Regions from separate parts of the Homo sapiens genome. Here region 1 is linked to region 2. The links are contacts of gene promoters, found by promoter capture Hi-C in human tissues and cell types (Jung and others, 2019). All regions are on one chromosome and are shown on one strand. The core of a region is centred on a gene start or on the middle of the fragment in contact, and the rest is flanking DNA. Distances in the headings are between cores, read along the strand shown. Region 1 overlaps FEZ1 (fasciculation and elongation protein zeta 1). Region 2 holds the start of CCDC15 (coiled-coil domain containing 15).

Region 1 (3,105 bases), core at 152-2,651, 510 kb before region 2:
TTCTGTAGAGTCTTACATCCTCTCTCTGTTTTTGGTGAGAACCCTCACCCTCACTTTTAGGTGGCCTGGTGCTCTGAGTCCAGAACCTCCAGTTCAACCTGCTCAGAGTGAAGTCTACAGTCCTTTTGAGCTGAGAGGATGCAGTCCCTTTTTATCTGGGTTGGAAGAAGACACTTGGGTCTCATTATTCTTGATGAAGAATACCAGCAAATCTTCCTTACATAGCCCCGCCATGCTGCCCCTCGGGGTCTGCAATTCCTGAGCCATTCAGTATCTGCTGTGTGACCCCCTTTACCTTGGGCAGCCTGCTCTCGCCAAGTTTAACCCTGCTGAGCCTGCTGGGCCGGCGTCTGTTTTCTGGCATTTCTCTTGCTGTTGCCTTTTCTCCTGTTCACTTTGTCCCTTTTGGGTTATTCTTTTTTGATCCCTTGACTCTCATTTTAGTAGGGTTTGAGGAGGAAGGGCTGATAAATTTGTGCCCAATCTCCTGTGTACCCACCTTCTACTATAAAGAAATGGAAACAGGAAATCATTTTAAAAATTATGTTATGGGCTGGGTGTGGTGGCTCACACCTGTAAGCACAGCACTTTGGGAGGCTGAAGTAGGAAGATCACTTGAGCCTAGGAGTTAGAAGCCAGCCTGGGTAAAGATAAAGAGGGAGTATTGGACTCAATCTTTACAAAAAAATGAAAAAGTTTGCCATGAGTGGTGGTGTGCACCTATGTTCCTAGCTACTTGGGAGGCTGAGGTGGAAGAATTGCCTGATCCCAGGAAAGGGAGGCTGCAGTGGACTTTGATCATGTCATTGGACTCCAGCCTGGGTGATATTGTGAGACTCTGTTTAAAAAAAGAAAAAAAAAAGTTATTATGTGGATGATGCAAGAGAGACTGTGGAACTCTACTCAGAGTTTCATTGTAAGCTTGGTCCTACACTAGGAACTTGGTGAATAAATAAATGTACATTTACATTTTTAGGTCAAAATAATTTGCTTGAGTTAATATGTCTGTAGGAGGCATTATTATTTTTTTCACAATTTACCACTTTTACTGGGGCTTTCGATTCATCAATCTATTCTATTCCTGTGATGTAAAACACAGTCTCCTTTTACCTTATAACCTTTATTTAATAGCAGATAGTGGTTGTCTGGATAAGAGGAAATTGGAAGTCCAGGATAGTGAATTATGTCTTTCATATTTTTGAGACAGGATCTCACTATGTCACCCAGGCTAGAGTACAGTGGCAACAGTCATGGCTCACTACAGCCTCCACCTCCCTGGCTCAAGCAATCCTCCCACCTCCATCTCCTGAGTAGCTGGGACTACAGGTGTGCACCACCATGCCTGGCTAATTTTGTTCATTTTTTTTGTAGAGACAGAGTTTCACTATGTTGCCCAGGCTGGGCTCAAGTGACCCTCCCACCCTGGCCTCCCAAATTGCTGGAATTACAGGCATGAGACACCATGCCCAGTCACATCTTCCTCTTTTCCAGGTGACTAAATAGCTAAGTTACCTGTGGAAGTGGACTGAATCTAGATGATAGTACTGCTCTCAGTCCTCTCTTTTTCAATTGTTCATTAATTCTTTCAACAAATATGTGTTGGCTGCATGCCCTAGTGCATCTCCCTATGGGAATGCACAGCCATTGACTTAATCCACGCAGATGTTTCCTGGTTGTTCATAAGCATAAAAGGGACATAGTTACCAGGCACAGTGGCTCACACCTGTAATCCCACTCGGGAGGCTGAGGTGGGAGGATTGCTTGAGGCCAGGAGTTTGAGACCAGCCTGGGCAACACAGTGAGACCCCTATCTCTAAAAAAATTCAAAACAAAAAAAATCTTAGTCAGGTGTGGTGGCACCTGCCTGTAGTCCCAGCTACTTGGGAGGCTGAGGCAGGAGGATCACTCGAGCAAAGGAGTTAGAGGCTGCATTGAGCCATGATTGTGCCACTGCATTCCAGCTTGTGTGACACAGCGAGATCCTGTGTCTAAAAAAAAAAAAAATGGGACACAGTTGTTGTGAATTTCTTTTTTTTTTTTTACTTTTTGTCTGAAGGTAAAAATGTATCTTTGTTCTCTTAATTTTTGTCAGGGGGGCAACCACTCATGTCAAACAATAGTGGTAAGGGGAGGAAAATATTATGCAAAGGGCTAAATATGCTGTAAAAATTACCTTTTCTATGAATGGGGTCATTTGAAACACTTTAATAAAATACACTGGTTAATAGTCATTATTGGAATCAAGGGCTCCACATAATTTTAATCATCATTCAGAATACTTCACTGTGCAGCAAGATTTAGCAATGTTATAGGCCTTGGGGAAAGTTTTCTGCATTTCTTTTCAAGTTTCAAGCTTTCATGTTATAGTCCTAGAGACACACTCTTCCCAAAAGCAGGAGGAAGAAACAGCTTGCTGAATGGTATAGCCAGACCCCTTTCTGGATTCAAATCTTCTCAATTCTGGGAATAAATCATTTGGAAGAATGACTTTTCTTGGAAAAGCATAGTTCACGTCAATAGTATCCAAACAGCTAGCAAGGTGTTTTTTTTTTTAGACAGGATCTCACTTTGTCATCCAGGCTGGAGTGCAGTGGCATAATCACGGCTCACTGCAGCCTCACTGCAGCCTCCATCTCCATGGCTCAATTGATCCTCCCACCTCAGCCTCCTGAGTAGTTGGGACTACAGGTGTGCCATCATGCCTGACTAATTTTTCTATTTTTTTAGAGACGGAGTCTTGCCATGTTGCCCAGGTTGGTCTCGAACTCCTGGACTCAAGCAATCCTCTCATCTCGGCCTCCCAAAGTGCTGGGATTACAGGTGTAAGCCACCACATCTGGTAACAACTAGCAGTTTTAGCTGACAAAGAAATTCAGCCCTAAATGACCTGGCCTGAAGTTATTTTTGACATGTATCTTCCCCACTGCTGCACAAGGGGCTAAAGGAACTCTCTACCGTGATATCTATGTCAGTGTCTTATGCTAGGATTAAGAGTATTTATATGCACAAGGGCTGTCATTTTTCAAAAACCTTTCTTTCTTCCTCTGTCATTGTTTCCCCTCCAGCTCTCCACCCTGTGCACAAGATACTGTCCTGGTCAAGGAG
Region 2 (3,265 bases), core at 8-2,507:
ATAGCTAAGGGGCACAGTTTGGTGAAAGACTATCAGAAACCATGGAATTTCTAGTTAGACTTTCTCAGATTATCAGAGTTCATCTCTTTCTCCTTTATTCTATTACTCCATTTTGCCTGAATCCTCATTACAAAATTTATCATAAACCTTAAGCAACCAATTAATGTTACTTGAAGTATGCCAACTATCATCCATACTAAGTTGCAGTGTCTGGAAGATGTAGATAGTGCTTATGTCTTGGGCATAACAAGCAATCAAGAGTCTGAAGTAAACTGATATACAGATATATATCTATATAACCTGTTCCATGTAGATTATGCTCTATATATTATAGTAGGTGAGTAATAAATATTTGATTATGCCAACTAAAGCTGCAGTCAAGTTTTGGCAAATACTTGTTCTATAATCCTAATGCAAGAGCATAAACTATTTATGGCAGAATAGAAACAGCATCCTCGGACTGTTCATCTTTAAGCACCCAGGATTAGAGAAGGCTAATAAAAAGGGTGGTGGGGAACCCCACCATATTTGGATCAAACTGACACTCACATATGCTGGGATTTCCGAACTACCTGGTGAGGCAGGTTCCACCCATGCCCCAACTGGTACTATAGCCTCGTTCCTCTCAGCCAGCACTGCCAACACGTCCTTGCTCTTCAGGGGGTTTAAAGCCAGGGGCAACCTTGAGGTATTTCGAGGTTTCTTTCGGGCCATACTTCCCAGCATCTGTGACTCCTGATTAGGAGAAAGAAAAAGCTTAAAATCTTCAAATGACTGCATTAAAAGTTCAACCTCCTAACACATGAGCCACAGGCCCGTGAAAAGGAGAGAAGCCCTGGAGGCAGAAGCCTGGCATGAAGTGGAAACACACGGATTCTAGAGAAAAAGGAAGAAAAGAAGGGAAGAGAAATGGGAAGAAATAAAGAGGCAAAGAAAGGTTTTTAAGTTGCCTTCTAGAAGAAATGGCGATGAGAGGGAAGAGAAAGGATGGGAATGAGAGAACGAAGACTGTCCTCAGCTGTGGGCGCAGCGAGGCGGGAAGGGAGGAATGACAGCTGCAACCCGGAGAAAGAGGGAGGGGCGGGGACCTGTGTCTGCAGCCGAGAGTCCCAATAATCGGTATAGGTTATGGGAAGACGCGCTGAACGGCTGGGAGCCTCGGGCCAGATAAAAGCCTGCTTCTGAGGCCCCGAGGCCTGCTCCGGCTGAGATGGCACTGGCCAGGAATCGGCCCGCAGCTCGCCACAGACTCAGTCTACTCGGAGTACTAAGGTAACCGCCTCAAGTAGACCGCCACTTTGCGGTGGGCTGCTCCGTCCCGCCCATCCGTAGCCTTATGCCCGCCCTTTCCGGAGCCCGCGTCCCCTCCCGGAGCTGGGAAGGCGTGAGAGGTGGAGTTTCGAGCGCCCGAGGTATCGTCATTTCCTCTTCCTGTCCGGCTGAGGGGGCGGGGACGTGTGGGTAAGCGGAGTCGCTGGGTAATGCGCCATGTGAGGCGCGGTGGGACTGTCGTTCCTGGACCAACGCCGAGACTTCCTAAATCCCTCCGGAAAGGGATGCGTTGGGCCTGTGATCTGGCGACTAGGAGGGTCAGGAGTCCCAGTAGAGGGAATCACGGGAAAAGAATGAAAGAGGGAGGCGAGCCTGGCACGGCTTCCTGGAGAAACAAACTAAGCTAACAAATTTTTCGGATCCTTTGTGCAGCTAATTTTACAGTACTGTTTCATACATCTTATTATATTTGGACATCACGGCCTGTTGAGTGGTCTCCCTCTCTGCTGCAAGCTCTGCTGTAATCCAGAGACACTCAATTATCTCTGTAGGATAATTTATTCATTCGATTAACATACATTACTACTAACTTTTTATAAACCAGTACTGTTCCAAGCACCGGAGATACATAGCTATGAACGAAACAAATATCCCTGCTCAGGGAATTCACAATAGAGTGAGGGGAAATAAGCGAATAAACAATGAGTAAGTAAATGTGTGTGATGTGGAGTAAAAGCAAAGAAAGCGGATAGGGAGTGTGGTGGGCAGGGTGGGGATTGGAGGGATGAAATATTAGAACGTCCAGAGAAGCTGCACTGAGATACTTTTCAGCAAAGACTTAAATGAGTTAATGGAAGAAGCCACTGTGCTCTTCAACGGAGGCTTTATAAACATGTTCCAGATATAACAGCAAGTATAAACGCCCCAAGGTGGAAGCATTGCCTGGTTGAGAAAAAGTCAGGAGGATAGTGTGACTGGAGCAGAGGGAGAGTGGAAGAATGCTGAGACAGTAGGTCAAGCAGGCAATCCGATCAAACATCGTAAGCCACCATAGGTGTTGAGATGGGGAGCCACTGGAGCAAGGTTTGGAGCAAAGGAACACCATAATGTGACAAAATTAAAAAAATAATAATTCCGAATGCTGTAGTGAGAATAGACTGTAAAGAAGACCAATTAGGTGGCTATTGCAATAATTCAGTTAAGGGATTGTGATGTCTTGGATCAAGGAGGTAGTGGTGGAGATGATGATAAGTGGTTGGATTCTGTATCTATTTGGGAGGCAAAACTTTCAGGATCTGTTGAAGGTTTGGATATGGATTGTGTGAGGGAGAGATGTCAAGGAAAACTAGGGGTTTCATCCTGAGCAGCTGTCAGGATGAAATTACTATTTACTGAGATAGTGAAGATGGTGGAAGGAGTAGATTTGGAAAGGGGAAGATCAGGAGTTCAGTTTGGGGCAGATAAAGTTTTATCTAATCAACATCCGAGAAGATAGTATGAGAAAAAGTGTCTGGAGCTCAGAGAAGGGTTCTGGGCTACAAATATAAATCTAAGAGTCGTTAGCCTGTAGATTTAAAGCCATGAGACTGGATGGAGTCATCAAGGGGTTGAATATAGACAGATAAAAGAATAAATCCTAAAACAGCCCCAGGGTATGTCAGTATTACAGAGGCTGAGAAAAAGAGGAGGAGAATGCTAAGAGATTGAGAAGGATTAATCAGTAAACCAAGGAAGAAAACTATGAGGGTGTGATACCTTGAAAGCCAGGTGAAAAAGAAATGTTCCATTGAGGGCAGACAATCTGTGTTAAATCCTACTGACAGATCAAATAAGGTAAGGACTGAAAATTGACTATTGGATTTGACCATGTGGAAGTGATTGATAACTTTTAAAAGAGCAGTGTCTTTAGAGTAGTTGGAGAGCAAAAGCCTGATGGGCTAGGCAAGAAAGAGTAGGAGAAGGAATTGGAGACAGCAATTTTAGACAATTCTTT

The links. The method cuts DNA at HindIII sites, captures the fragments that hold promoters and counts their contacts. A contact is called where the count stands out against the background at its distance.
Region 1: a contact is called between a fragment that was not itself captured here and the fragment with the promoter of CCDC15 in region 2, in 4 of the 25 tissues and cell types used here (dorsolateral prefrontal cortex, heart left ventricle, hippocampus and 1 more).

The regions. Positions count from the first base shown.
Region 1 is chr11:125,465,936-125,469,040 of GRCh38, reverse strand. The region is part of intron 3 of FEZ1 (fasciculation and elongation protein zeta 1); the gene reads left to right. Among named protein-coding and RNA genes, the nearest start is that of FEZ1, 29 kb to the left of the region's middle. The HindIII fragment of the contact is 4,328 bases long and covers 1-3,105 here.
Region 2 is chr11:124,952,194-124,955,458 of GRCh38, reverse strand. CCDC15 (coiled-coil domain containing 15) reads right to left here and starts at 1,257. Exons shown (of 16, transcript NM_025004.3): 1 at 1,089-1,257; 2 at 550-735. The coding sequence starts at 726. CCDC15-DT (CCDC15 divergent transcript) reads left to right here and starts at 1,468. Exons shown (of 3, transcript XR_948134.3): 1 at 1,468-1,977. RefSeq lists an enhancer at 1,054-1,597. The HindIII fragment of the contact is 10,363 bases long and covers 76-3,265 here.